3 separate regions of the Homo sapiens genome follow, and all the other regions are linked to region 1. The links are contacts of gene promoters, found by promoter capture Hi-C in blood cells and fetal thymus (Javierre and others, 2016). All regions are on one chromosome and are shown on one strand. The core of a region is centred on a gene start or on the middle of the fragment in contact, and the rest is flanking DNA. Distances in the headings are between cores, read along the strand shown.

Region 1 (4,566 bases), core at 1,410-3,909:
AATGAAGACTACTTAGAGGTAGGAACCAACCCTACCTTGGTGATTTTTGTTCCTCCAAATATCTTTGCACATAATAATTCAATATTTATTCAAAGAAAACGTTATATACTGTTTCATACCACAAACAAGATTGTTCTGTCCTTGAAAACAAAACCTTTTGTATCTTTGAATCAGGAAATATTCTATAAATGCCTATTGACCTATTAATTTCCTCTTCCCTAACAATCAGATACTCTACCAGGATATGTAGATATCTTCTTCAGGGCACCTTGCACTTAGCAGAGTCCCAAATATTTTATTTTCTCCACTCTAGCACCACCAAATCATGTAAAGTATACAGCCACTCACATTTCACATCAACTTCTCCATTCTTATGCATAGCTCCTTCCAGCCACCCCTCTGAAAACTGACTCTCCTAAACATTTCCGTAAGACCCAGGATCATGTTTTCATATATACCCATCAATCCATTTATCCAAAACCCACTTGTAATTTAACAAGTGCTTTTTATTTTTATTGAAGATGGGGTCTTGCTATGTTCCTAAGGCTGGCCTCCAACTCCTGGTTTCAAAGGATCCTCCCACCTCAGCCTGCAGAGTAGCTGGGATTATAAGTGTGCTCCAACCACCATGCCCCGCAACAAGTATTTATTAATCTAACTTCACTTTTATGGAGTTTTTGTTTTTTAAAATATAGAGATGGGGTCTTGCTATGTTGCCCAGGCTGGTCTTGAACTCCTGGCTTCAAGCAATCCTCATGCCTTGGCCTCCCAAAGTGTTGGGCTTACAGGTGTGAGCCACTGCACCCAGCCCTAACTTCACTTTTTTTTTTTTTTTTTTTTTGAGACAGTCTCACCCCAGTTGCTCAGGCTGGAATGCAGTGGCATGATCTCAGCTCACTGCAGCCTCAAACTCCTGGGCTCAGGTGATCTTCCCACCTCAGCCTCTTGTGTAGCTGGGACTGCAGGCACGCAGAACCATGAGTAGCTGGAACTACAGGCATGCAGAACCATGCCCAGCTAAGTTGTTTTTTTTTTTTTTTTGAGACAGAGTCTTGCTCTGTTGCTCAGGCTGGAGTGCAGTGGCACGATCTCGGCTCACTGCAAGCTCCACCTCCCAGGTTCAAGTGATTCTCCTGCCTCAGACACCTGAGTAGCTGGGACTACAGGTGTCCGCCACCACTCCTGGCTAATTTTTTTGTTTGTTTGTTTTTGTATTTTCAGTAGAGACAGGGCTGTGTTAGCCAGGATAGTCTCGATCTCCTGAGCTCGTGGTCCGCCCCCCTCCGCCTCCCAAGGTGCTGGGATTACAGGCAGGAGCCACCGCACCCAGCCACTTTATTTTTAGTAGAGACGGAGTTTCACCATGTCGCCCAGACCAGTCTCAAATTCCTGTCTCCAAGCAATCCTCCCACCTCAGCCTCCCAAAATGCTGGGATTACATGTGGGCACCATTCTGCCCAGCTGTAATTCTTAAAAATTATTATTAAAAAAGAACAAAACACATAGATGCCCTAGACTCAACTCAGCTCTACTGATCAATCTTTAGGGGTTAGGACTAGGCTTTTGAAATGTTAAAACACCCAGAAAACTGATGACCAGTCAGGCTTAGTATCCGCCATCTCTACCATTCATATGGTACTTAATGTTTCATATTTAAATGGAAAGGACACCTCACACTTTTTTGTTTTTCCTATAGTTCCTACTCAGAGAATATGCCTAATAAATATTTTATGAGAGTAGTACAGAAGTATGACTCCATTTTTCTCTTATATTTCATTTCAGTGTGGAAGGCTCTTTAGAAACACTATTAACATAACAGCATTATGTCAAAAAGCGCCAATAACATTCTCACCAACTTTTCTTTTTAAAGGAATTAGGTATAGCTAGACTGTAAAAGGCAAGTGGTGTGAAGCCCAAACCTAAGATCCTAAGATCTAGGATGAGTCAAGACTTCATAGTCTACATGAGTAGAGGCAGCATCTAGAGGAAAACAAAAGTATGTGGCTATCAAATTCCAAAGAAGCCCCATTTTATTACAGAGAAAATACAAAGCCGTTTCCTCACAGGGAAAAGTACAGTTTCCCTTCTCCAGGGTGACAGATGAGCCTTTTCCGAAGTTCTCAGCTTTCTCTTCTATCGAAACTTCCCATGTCGGTTAAAGTGTTTGTAGAGATAGCGGATGCGTTTATTAAGGTTGTGCAGGTCATCAGCGAACATTCTACTTCCAACCATTTTCCTCTTTCGGATACAACGTTGCAATTCATTCCCTTTCCAACCTCGAAGCCATATGGGCCCCCTGATCAGTTCTTTGGGGTGCTTTTCAAAGTTTCCTGTGTAATGTGAGAGAACACATTAGATCCAAGACAAGAGAACTCATCCTACACCAGCTAAGCTTTCAACCCACGGTTGCATCTTGCTGAGCAGCACCTATAGACAAGGAACATTACAGTACAGAACAATAGCACAGACTCTGGAGCCAGACTGCTTGGGGTTAAAATTCTGATGCTGCCATTTATTAACTTTGGAAAAACTGTTTATTTTTACTTATGAAGTAAAAATTATACGAGGGGACTCAGAACAGTGCCAAACACAATGTAAACAGCTACATAAGTGTTTGCTCTTACTATTGAGCACAGTACCACTCTCTACACAGGAGGAAAAGATAGTCGTTACAGCCTAATTGCCATTCTGAAATTGTGTACCACGTCGAAGGTCAAGTCTTACCCAGGATCCCGATGTTGTCATACACTCCGAACATGGCCCTTTTCTCGTTCCAACGATCAACCACTTTGGGGGGCGGGAGAGTGAGCCTTATACCGATCAATCTAGGCACACCTGGGGATGGGGAAGGGAGGGAATTAATCTGAGCCGCCTATTATACTACGAAGCAGTTATCGGGGTGCCTACATCAGCCACTTACCAAGAGAGAAGCTTCTGCACGCCAGAGGCACCCAGTCCCACAGGCGCCTACCTGCCCCGGATAAGAGGTTCCCTGCCATTTCTCTAGTCTCCCCCCTTCAACAGCACACCAAATAAGCCCAAGAAGATGACAGGAACCGTCCCCGCCAACTTCACACGAGTACTAAGGCGAAGACAGCCATCTTGGGCCTTACCCAGGCAGCTGTGGGCGCACCGCCCACCTACGCCCCATCCGCAACAGCCACGAGCCCCGCCCCCCGGGTTCCGGCAGGAGGGGCCTCTACCACCCTTCCCGCCTCAGTGCTTCCGGTCCGCCTGCCGGAAGTTTTGGAGCGCCGGACAAGCTGAGGTCCGCGACTCGTCGCTAAGATTCCCCAAAACTGAGATTTCAAGAAAATTCACCCTTTCCGCTTTCTTTGGCGTCCTTCAACCGTGAAGGAAATGAAGGTTGAGAACCTGGAACCCGCTTCCAATGACCAAGCCCTTTCTCTGTGCCTCACAACAGTCTTCCGCTGTAGCTGTTTTTATTACCCCTATTTTACTACTGGGGAGGAGATTTGAGGTCCTGAAAGTGAAGTGACTTGCTGGACGTCACTTAGCAGAGGAGATGGCGAAACCTGGATTAGAGGCGATGCCTTCTAACTCCCAGCGTGGACTTGCCTCCTTTCCTGGGGGTGACTGAATGCCCAGCCAGGGACGCGACGTCTCTGGCCAGCAGAAATACGGCCTCCTCCCCGCCGACTGGGCAAAGGGGGACCTTGCGGCCAAGGAGGGATTCGCAGGCGGGCCGGGGGTGGGAGCGGGGGCCGGAGCCGGAGCCTTGGCCCGCCCCCGGGCGGCGCTGTGATTGGCCGGCCGCTCCGGCGGGCGTCGCGATTGGCCGTCCTGCAGCCGTTGAGATTTGAACTCGGTATTTGTGGCTTTGCCCGCGCGTTGCCAGACTCAGAGGCGGCCCTTTGCCTCTGCCTGCCGGGGATTGGCCGGATTCTCCGCCGACTTGAAAACTGCCTTGCTAATTGGTGCGTGTTGTGCACGCGTGTTTTTTCCTTTTCATTTCAGCCTGACTGCCGGAATCAGAGCCGCGGGTGAGATCCCCAGGTAAGATGTGGTGTTGCAGGTCGTAAAAGAGTAGGAAAGTCGAGTACATGGCAGTGTGACCCAGTCTTGGGCAAAATACAATAGGCCTAGTAAGTATATCCCTGGGGCGCGATGTGTGAGAAACTGTAAGTCTGACAGATCCGCAACGGAAGTTGTTAAGCAAATCGCTTAACAGATCCGCAACGGAAGATGTTAAGCAAATCGCTTAACAGATCCGCAACGGAAGATGTTAAGCAAATCGCTTAACTTTCTTACTTCAATTTCCGCTCTGTAAACTCATTTGTATTATTATGCACCTCATGGGATTGAGGTTAGGATACTTAGATCAGATATGATACATGCAAACAGCCTAACAGACTTGGCACAGGATAAATAAATCATCATTGTTAATGCTCTTACCATTCTGGTGCAGGAAGCCCACTAGCCCATGCTGGGGCACTGTTTTGGCCTCAGACGAGATCAGACCATTCTCTCTATACTTAAGGAGCTTTGCACATAAAAATGGAAATAATAGTACTTTGCACATTAATATGCCACTTTATAGTTCTT
Region 2 (4,279 bases), core at 1,107-3,606, 360 kb after region 1:
GAGGAGGAGTCTAAGAAAACAAGCCATTCCTCAGTATCCCTGGGAAAGAAGGGGTGAGAGGACACAGATATCACCAGGCCCTGGGTGACTGCATTGCTGGGGCCATGCAGGGCCTAGCTCTCCACCAAGGGAAAGTGCTGATTTTCCTTGTCATGGTCCTGGCCTTGCTCCCATGCTCGTCCTCCAGTTTTCAGAAGTCGTCCAGTTCCAAGAATGGCTCCTTCCTTTAGTTCACTAACATTTTCACTTAGGGGTGAAGGCCGCTTACCCTGAAAACGGCAGTGTATGAGTTGGGGGGAGTTGCTGTTCAGAAGAGGGAAGATCTGGGTAAAAGGGTCTCCCACCCTCTACGTTGGATATCCTAGTAACAGCTTGCACTTTCTCTTCCTTTACCTGTCGTAGTGTCAGGGTGCCAGGGGAGTTGTCATCCTGCAGGATGGTGAGGGGGGATCTCCCTAGTACCTTGCTGCTGTTTGGTTTCCATCTATTGCGCATAGAACCTGGGGTGGGTAAGGCGTTAAAGCAAGGACCCAAAACTAGGACTTACAGTTTATTCCTCCCACACTCACCCATGGACCTTATCCCAAAACATTATCCTAGTTTATCTTCCCTGCATCTTGCCTTAGATTCTGTACCTGAAGATCTGGGAGTCTCAGGGTCCCTTGAGGGCTTGTCGGAGCTCTGGCTGGCCACAGGGGTTTCTGTGGGCTGTCTTGCTTCCTCCTTGGAAAACACCTGTTTGGAGGGGAACTCAGTCTGGTTCCAAGGTGGCATCTGTTCCTCAACAGATAACTGGGTACCCAGAGGCAAGTCCAATTCAGAAGATAAAGGTGCCTCTGGGGGCAGAACAGGCTCTGGGGGAAGATTTGATTTAGAGTCTTCAGTTTCAAATACTTCACTCAGCTGTTTCACCAGTGGGCTTGGGGGGTCTAGAGGAAGAAAGTGAAGTGAACAGTGACCTTCTGATACACAACATTCAGCAAGGAGCAAAACATACAGAAACCCAGGACTCATGCCCAGGAGGGTGAGCAAGTGGGAAGAGAGAAATCAAGGAAATCAAGGTGAAAGGGAGCAATTTTTTTTTTTTTTGAGATGGGGCTTGCTCTGTCCCCCAGGCTGGAGTGCAGTGGCGTGATCACAGTTCACTGCAGCCTTGACCTTGTGGGCTCAAGCAATCCTCCCACTTCAGCCTCCTGAGTAGCTGGGATCACAGGCCCATGCCACCGTGCTTTTGTGTGTGTGTGTGTGTGTTATGTGTGTGTATTTTTTCTAGAGATGGGGTTTTGCCATGTTGCCTAGGCTGGTCTTGAACTCCTGGGCTCAAGCGATCTGACCACCCCGGCCTTCCAACGTGCTGGGATTACAGGCATGAGCCACCGCACCCAGGCTGGGAACAAAATATTGAGATAAGAGTGAGATGGGTCCGAAGCAGGAGGATAGAGGCCCCTTTAAGGAACCCTGAGAGAATGGCTTCATGGACCCTACCCAAGAATAATAGATGACAGCTTCATCAGCATTCCCTGGGCCCAACGCTTACCTCCACTGCTGGTCTTCATAGGTGTCCGTGCAATACCAAGAGTAGGAGAGCGGGGATCTGAGTCCTGGGCATGTTTAAGACCCTCCAGTTGCTCCCCTGCTGGTAGGCCTGGCTGTGGAGAGCTCTCCACCTGTCAAGACCATAGGCTAGAACAAGTCTGGGCCCTGACTCTTCTCTCCTCTCCTCCCCATATTCCAGGAAGGAATTGCCAAGGCCCTCAGATATCCAGCCTACCCCACACAGATTGAGATTGCAGAAAATAAGGCTAGGATAAGGGTGGGGTCATGACGGCTCTCTCAAAATCAGGTTAGGAAGAGACCCAAGAATTCAGACATTCTCTGCCTTTCCCACGCTGGCCCAGAGTACCTGGATGGGAGTGCGCAGGATGCCAGCACTAGGTGAACGGGGGTCCGCCACTCGAGCCAGATGCTTGTTGTGCGGCGGAGGCCGCGCTGGTGTGACTGGGACGCTCTTGGCTGAGCCCATCTCAACCAGGAGTTGCAGGGTGGGGGCAAGGGCCAGCCCGGGACGAGGAGGGAATGCCTGTGAGAAGTGACTCAGGTCTCAGCCCTTATCTCTTCCACGTCGGACCTTCAACCCTAAACCACCCTGTCTTCCCAGTTTCCAGTGAAGAAACTTCCTGGCGAGGGACCAGAGGCCTCTGCGGAGTTAATGACTGCTGCAGCTGACAAAATGGCTCGTTCTGGGCCTGCTGAGCCCTCTAACTTATTTATTAAATTATTCAAATCACTTACCGGGCCCCAATTCCACCTCTGGATGCACAACAGCTCGTGGCTCAACTCCCGAAGTTACCAGTTTCAAACTTCCCGCCACGCCCCCTGCCCTGACCCTATTGGCTGAGCCGACGTAGTTCCCATAGGCCCTCCACGTAAGACCCGCCTCGAGCCAAAGGAAGCTGTTGGTCTGGGAGAACGTCTATCATGGTGACTGTAGGTGTCAATGGACTGATGCTAGGCTTGCCCAGGGGTGACGCCTCCTTGATAAGGGTACTTCTGTTCAGTATCGGCCTGCGAGCCGTCCGTGGCAGGCTGAGGAGTGCCAGTCTTCGCTTTCGAGACGTCTAGTCTCAAGAACGAATTATTAAACAAAATAGAATCATGAGTGATTACACTATTATGCGCACATCCAGCTGGAGTTGTGATGGTTTTCCTGAGGCGAGCGATAGTAGCTTTATTGGTTGACAGCTGTATCAGTCACTCGACACAACCCCCTCAAGCTCCGCCTCACTGGATACCCCCTTTACAAATACCAAGACAACTGTCCCTCGACTTTCCGACCGGACAGGTCCCCAGGAAACTTTCTGGAATTGAGAGGCCTAAAACAACCGTCAGTTCCTGCTCTTCAATAGAAGGCACGCGAATGGACTCTAAGGGTCCCGGAGCCGGAGCAGCTGCGGAGCCGCAGCAGCTGCAACCCCGAAGCCCACCTAGCTGCTCTACGTGCGCTCCCGCCCTGGAGGAGTGGGATTGGTTCTTTCAACCATCAATTGCCTTAGGAGCGCTTCTCATTGGCGTCAGTCAAGCGCGGGGCAGGGGCGGAGCACCGGCAGGCAGGCTCCGTCCAACTGCCATTCTCGCGCGTCGTCTCCGCGGCGCATGCCCCTAACGAGTGGCGCTCATTGGACGGGAGGGGCAGGGGAGGGGACTGGGAACGGTGGGAGCCGCCGTGTGTGGAGAAGCTGCTGCCGGTGTCATGGCGGAGCTGAGTGAGGAGGCGCTGCTGTCAGTATTACCGACGATCCGGGTCCCTAAGGCTGGAGACCGGGTCCACAAAGACGAGTGCGCCTTCTCCTTCGACACGCCGGTAAGCCCATTCCCCACGCCCGCAACGAGCACGACTTCCTTCCATCGCCCTGGTCATTCCGCTGGGGCCTGCAAGGCTTGGGCTACCGCCTCCCTGCGATGCACCATGGGACTTGTAGTCTCCCACGCTCCACTCTGCCGTTGCCTTTCATTAACTGCGGCTGTCGTGTGACTACCGTCCCCGGAAGCCGCCGCGCTCACCTCTCCGGCTCCCCGCTTCGTGGAGCACTGTGGGCATTGTAGTCACTCACTGCCTTCGTTGCCGTTCTAAGCTAGGGGCGCAGCCCGACCGTCGGACTACATCCCCCAAGTGGACCCTTGAGAAAACCTGGCAGTCGGCCTTGTCTGCCGCGCACGGCTCTCCGGGTTTTGTAGTCTCGTGTAGGAGTGATGGGGACGACTCCCCACTGTTCTCGGCCGGGGTTGGAGTTGGGGGGTGGGGACCGCAGTTCCTAGGCGGTTAATAGTCTGGGAGTGGACTCTCAAGAAGTCCGATTCTGAGAAAGGCAGAGAGCCTCCACCCCGTGGTTAAAACAGACAGGGGGCGGGGAGGGGAGGAAAGAGGAGAGGAAAGCTCTAGTCGTTTCTCCTTTGAAGTGAGCAATGGCCGCAGCCCCCACCCTTCCCCCCGCCCCCCAGCCTATCACAGACAGCTGAGATAACCCCTTTTAAAGTATTCCTAGAGAGGTGGTTTCTTTCTCGGAGGATGCTAAGGCCTCTTTCCCATCCCGCTCCCACTCTTGGCTAGTTACACAAAGCCACCTCCCACACCATGCTTCACGTTTTGCAGGCTCCACCTGGTACCTCCCTTCCTGCAGTTCTGCCTTCCCTATGTCACCCTCAAGCGGAGGCCCTTTGGGGCCTGAACTGAGAAGGCAGCAGCTTGGTTGGGATCCGCCCCCCTCACCACCCCTCCCCT
Region 3 (4,475 bases), core at 439-2,938, 370 kb after region 1:
GCACATGGTGGCTGGGCTGTGGATTTGGGGTATGGGCAGAGAGTGTGGAGAGCACTTCCAGGGGCCATGTCTGAGAGACTACATGATGCCACTTTGAATGCCCAGTTTGTTCATCCTTTTCTGTTTTCCCCACTTCCCCAGATGGGTGATCTACAATGACCAGAAAGTGTGTGCCTCCGAGAAGCCGCCCAAGGACCTGGGCTACATCTACTTCTACCAGAGAGTGGCCAGCTAAGAGCCTGCCTCACCCCTTACCAATGAGGGCAGGGGAAGACCACCTGGCATGAGGGAGAGGGGCTGAGGGATGGACTTCAGCCCCTCTGCTCTGTACCCTTTTTCCTTTTGTCCCCGGCAGCAGGGAAGAAGCTGGAGGCCGTGGGAGAATGGCTGGGCAGAGCAGAGGGGCAGCGATAGACTCTGGGGATGGAGCAGGACGGGGACGGGAGGGGCCGGCCACCTGTCTGTAAGGAGACTTTGTTGCTTCCCCTGCCCCCGGAATCCACAGTGCTCTGCTTCTCTGTGTCGCCCCGCCCAGCCCCCTGGTGTGGAGGGAGGGGTCTCGTTTGTGCGCGTGGGTGTAGCTTTGTGCATCCTCTCCCAGTGGAGCGATCACCTGTGCCTCCCCTCCCCCTTTGTTTGCCCCTGTGTGGTTGGTCAAGGAGGGATGTGAGGGAAATAGGGACCCCCCGACTTGCCCTCCTGCCTCAGTCTTTCCCCCACCCTGTCTCTTCCTTGTCCTTCTCTGGAAAATGCCAAAATACACGATGTGAATAAAAGTACAACGGCTAAATTGTGTCCTGTTTGATACCTTGGGGGAGAGGCTTACCTTCCTGGGGTTAGCAGGAGGGCGCTTAAGAAAACTCCTAACTCTGGCCGCCTCCCTGCCAAAGTCAAGTCTCCACTTTTCACTGGTTCTAGAGCTCTAGGAAAATTGGGGTTGGGTGGGGAGGTGGAGTAGAGTGACTAAATGCCGACACAAAGCCAAGGAAAGATGGAGTGAAGAACCCTTCCCTCTCTTTATTCACACAGGAGTGGAGGATTTCCCAAATGTCCCTAACTGGCTAGCTGGCTTCAGGCTGGGACTCAGTCCCTGCAGTTCCTGCCAGGCCTTGCCAGCCGGGGCGAGGGTTGGGATGATCCTGGCGGCCTATGCCTGTGTGGGCTGCCCCTCCCGCTGTGAACCCTGCATTTGTCCCGCAAGTTTTCACTCAGGTAGACTCCCTGGGTACAAGGGTGCCTGCTCAGCAGTCGGGCATGAGCTGCTCCGATGGGCGAAGGAGGTTGTCTATCCCACAGTTGGAGAGGGGCCCTCTCTGCCCCAGTGGGCGATCTGGGCTACGGCCAAGTTGCCACCAGCTAGTTCCGCTTGAAAACCACTTCTGGCCCCGTGGGGGACTCAAGTCGCCAAGCGAGGGTTCCCCTGAGCGCCGGAGCTCACAGGTCTCGCCTTGTCCCGAAAGCCCCGCAATCGAGGCGGAGGCGACCGAGCCCCCGACTCTCCTAGAACGTTGCCACAAGAAGGGGGAACGTCGGAACAGTGCATCATCGGGCGGCGGCCGGGGCGGCGGCAGGAGGGCGGGCGGGGGGCAGGGCTCCGGGGGACTGGGCGGGCCATGGCGGAGGACGGCGAGGAGGCGGAGTTCCACTTCGCGGCGCTCTATATAAGTGGGCAGTGGCCGCGACTGCGCGCAGACACTGACCTTCAGCGCCTCGGCTCCAGCGCCATGGCGCCCTCCAGGAAGTTCTTCGTTGGGGGAAACTGGAAGATGAACGGGCGGAAGCAGAGTCTGGGGGAGCTCATCGGCACTCTGAACGCGGCCAAGGTGCCGGCCGACACCGGTAAGCCCTCGCCGAGGAGGGGTCTGGCCGGGCCGGGGCCGGGGCCGGGGCAGGAGTGGCAGCGCCCTCTCCCGAGGCCCCGAGGCCCCGAGGCCGGTATCCGCGCGGACCTGATGCAGGGCTGTGGGACGAGGGCCGCTGGGGTCCGGGCAGGGGCCTCGCAGCCGCAGCCCCGTCGGTGCGTCGAGGGGGCAGGGCGGAGCACATGATGCCCCTTGGACTATGGGGCAGGTAAGGACGTTTTGGGTCTCCTGGAGGAAGGTGGCCCCGGGGCGCGCACTGGGGCTGTGCCCGCCAGGCGACGGGGTTAGGAGCGGAGCCCGAGGCTCTGCGGGAGACCGGGGGAGGCTGGGCCGCGTGGGCTTCCCGCTCCCTGCGCCCTGGCCTCCCGCGCCGTGCGCCGCCGCACGTAGCCCCAGACTCCTCCCCTTCCTCGCCGGCGTCCGCGTCCCCGCGCCGAGCTGCTCGGGCTCCCTGAGCCCCAGATCTGACCCCTTCCCTTCGGCAACCTGAACGACTCCCGCCTTCCACGGAAGGGACCGAGCCCGTGCCAAACAGGCTGAGCGATTTGGGAGTGAGGAGCCATCCTACCGCTTTCCCCAACCTGGAAACAGCAAAGCGCAAGGCCTCTGAGTCAGTTAGGTCTCTGCCACCCACGGGCAAAGGATGCTCTCCTCCATCCTCCTTCCTCCCTCCACCGAAATCGGAGAGCCGCGGGCCTGATCCAAAGAGGCATCCCCTTCTCGTTCATTCCCCAGAGGCCTCAATACAAACCCCAGGAGTTGGCCCCTCTCCTTTTGCTACAAATCCTTGCCTTGCAAAGGGGAGGTGAGGATGGGCTATTTTAGAAGGGAAGCAGGGTTGCTCCCTGGAGAATGCTGAGTCTGTGAGGTGCCTATGCCGAGAATAGCTCGAGGAAATTGGAGCCCCAGCTGTTAAAAGAGCAGAGGGCAGGGTGAGGGCCGTGGCCTCTCAGGGGTATCTGGAAGGCTCTTCGAGTTGAGTGCAGACCCAGCCTGGGCTGGAAAATGGACAAAGGTCATCTTGCTGGGGTGAAAAGGGGGAGAGCAGAACCAAGAAGAAGAGGGTGAGGGCTGGGGGGCTCCAGGGCACTGGTTAGGAATTGTGGGGAATGAAGGCTTTCTTTAGTCTCATCCCCCTGTGGTACCATCTTGTCCTCAGAGGTGGTTTGTGCTCCCCCTACTGCCTATATCGACTTCGCCCGGCAGAAGCTAGATCCCAAGATTGCTGTGGCTGCGCAGAACTGCTACAAAGTGACTAATGGGGCTTTTACTGGGGAGATCAGGTGAGATCGAGGTGGAGAGGGGTGTGTGGGACCCTTCCCTCACTTTCCTCGTTGAGGGGAAAGCCACAGGGTGGGCTCCCTGCTGAACCTTGGCTTCATCTCTTCCTTTAGCCCTGGCATGATCAAAGACTGCGGAGCCACGTGGGTGGTCCTGGGGCACTCAGAGAGAAGGCATGTCTTTGGGGAGTCAGATGAGGTTAGTAGCCAAGAGAGAAGATAAGGGATGTCTTTTTCCAAGAAGGATGTCTCACCAAGTCTGTTTCTCAACAGCTGATTGGGCAGAAAGTGGCCCATGCTCTGGCAGAGGGACTCGGAGTAATCGCCTGCATTGGGGAGAAGCTAGATGAAAGGGAAGCTGGCATCACTGAGAAGGTTGTTTTCGAGCAGACAAAGGTCATCGCAGGTATCTCTGGAGAAAGGGACCTTTGAGCCTATCCAGGGCCACAGAGACTCAGAGGGTAGGGTCAGGCCCTGGAGCCTGTCTTGGTCCCCATGCTGATCCAGAAAAGGAAAAAGGGGAGGGGGAGTGACAATCTTTGCTTGGGGCCTATGACTTCTCCAGCCCCAAGGTAGATGCCACCTGGAAATCCCCCAATGTCCACTAGGGGGCAGTAGGCCACCGTTCTTCGTACTCCGGAGAACCTGGCTGGAGAGCTCTTTCTTGTTCACCCTTCCCTCCATCTGTATCTCTGCCCTGCAGATAACGTGAAGGACTGGAGCAAGGTCGTCCTGGCCTATGAGCCTGTGTGGGCCATTGGTACTGGCAAGACTGCAACACCCCAACAGGTAACCGGGCCCAGGAGCCCTGCCCTCATCCCAGCCTGCCTCAATAGGTTTGGACAGACACAGCCCACATGGGGCAACCCCTTATTTCAAAGACACAGAGACCTTGAACCCAGAGACAGTGACTTGTCCAAGGGCATCCAGTCCAGGGCCTGGCTTGGATCAGAGCCCTGGTACTCTGACTCAGTCAGAAACCACACTAAGTGTCCACTGGTGCCAGTGATTTTTCCTCTTAGAGAGGCAGAAAAGGTCTTACTTAGGCCAGCTTCTTGTTCTAGGCCCAGGAAGTACACGAGAAGCTCCGAGGATGGCTGAAGTCCAACGTCTCTGATGCGGTGGCTCAGAGCACCCGTATCATTTATGGAGGTGAGTGGCTTTGGTTCCCGGCTGAGGTGGAGTGGGCTGAGGACTAGACTGAGCCCTCGGACATGGAGGTGGGGATGGGGCAGACTCATCCCATTCTTGACCAAGCCCTTGTTCTGCTCCCTTCCCAGGCTCTGTGACTGGGGCAACCTGCAAGGAGCTGGCCAGCCAGCCTGATGTGGAT

The links. Contacts are between HindIII fragments. The CHiCAGO score rates a contact against its expected background, and 5 or more counts as called.
Region 2: the fragment with the promoter of CDCA3 here is called in contact with a fragment that was not itself captured in region 1 in 4 of 17 cell types (non-activated CD4 T cells, activated CD4 T cells, naive CD4 T cells and 1 more); the score reaches 8.8 in non-activated CD4 T cells.
Region 3: the fragment with the promoter of TPI1 here is called in contact with a fragment that was not itself captured in region 1 in 2 of 17 cell types (non-activated CD4 T cells and activated CD4 T cells); the score reaches 7.4 in non-activated CD4 T cells.

What each region holds. Positions count from the first base shown.
Region 1 is chr12:6,490,138-6,494,703 of GRCh38, forward strand. It overlaps MRPL51 (mitochondrial ribosomal protein L51), which reads right to left and starts at 3,125. Exons shown (of 3, transcript NM_016497.4): 1 at 2,921-3,125; 2 at 2,725-2,835; 3 at 1,749-2,330. The coding sequence starts at 2,999. The coding sequence ends at 2,134. NCAPD2 (non-SMC condensin I complex subunit D2) reads left to right here and starts at 3,965. Exons shown (of 32, transcript NM_014865.4): 1 at 3,965-4,017. RefSeq lists enhancers at 3,343-3,392, 3,560-4,157 and a silencer at 3,593-3,922. The HindIII fragment of the contact is 539 bases long and covers 2,391-2,929 here.
Region 2 is chr12:6,848,930-6,853,208 of GRCh38, forward strand. It overlaps CDCA3 (cell division cycle associated 3), which reads right to left and starts at 2,357. Exons shown (of 6, transcript NM_031299.7): 1 at 2,293-2,357; 2 at 1,904-2,080; 3 at 1,538-1,667; 4 at 636-929; 5 at 394-500; 6 at 1-269. The coding sequence starts at 2,023. The coding sequence ends at 114. It overlaps USP5 (ubiquitin specific peptidase 5), which reads left to right and starts at 3,221. Exons shown (of 20, transcript NM_001098536.2): 1 at 3,221-3,361. The coding sequence starts at 3,251. RefSeq lists silencers at 2,363-2,412, 3,083-3,192, 4,163-4,212 and enhancers at 2,573-2,852, 2,859-3,819, 2,923-2,972, 3,243-3,882. The HindIII fragment of the contact is 8,619 bases long and covers 1-4,279 here.
Region 3 is chr12:6,865,843-6,870,317 of GRCh38, forward strand. It overlaps TPI1 (triosephosphate isomerase 1), which reads left to right and starts at 1,689. Exons shown (of 7, transcript NM_000365.6): 1 at 1,689-1,839; 2 at 3,022-3,145; 3 at 3,257-3,341; 4 at 3,416-3,548; 5 at 3,846-3,931; 6 at 4,207-4,294; 7 at 4,423-4,475. The coding sequence starts at 1,725. It overlaps USP5 (ubiquitin specific peptidase 5), which reads left to right. Exons shown (of 20, transcript NM_001098536.2): 20 at 142-790. The coding sequence ends at 235. RefSeq lists enhancers at 1-604, 605-1,266 and silencers at 1,536-1,585, 1,856-2,295. The HindIII fragment of the contact is 21,039 bases long and covers 1-4,475 here.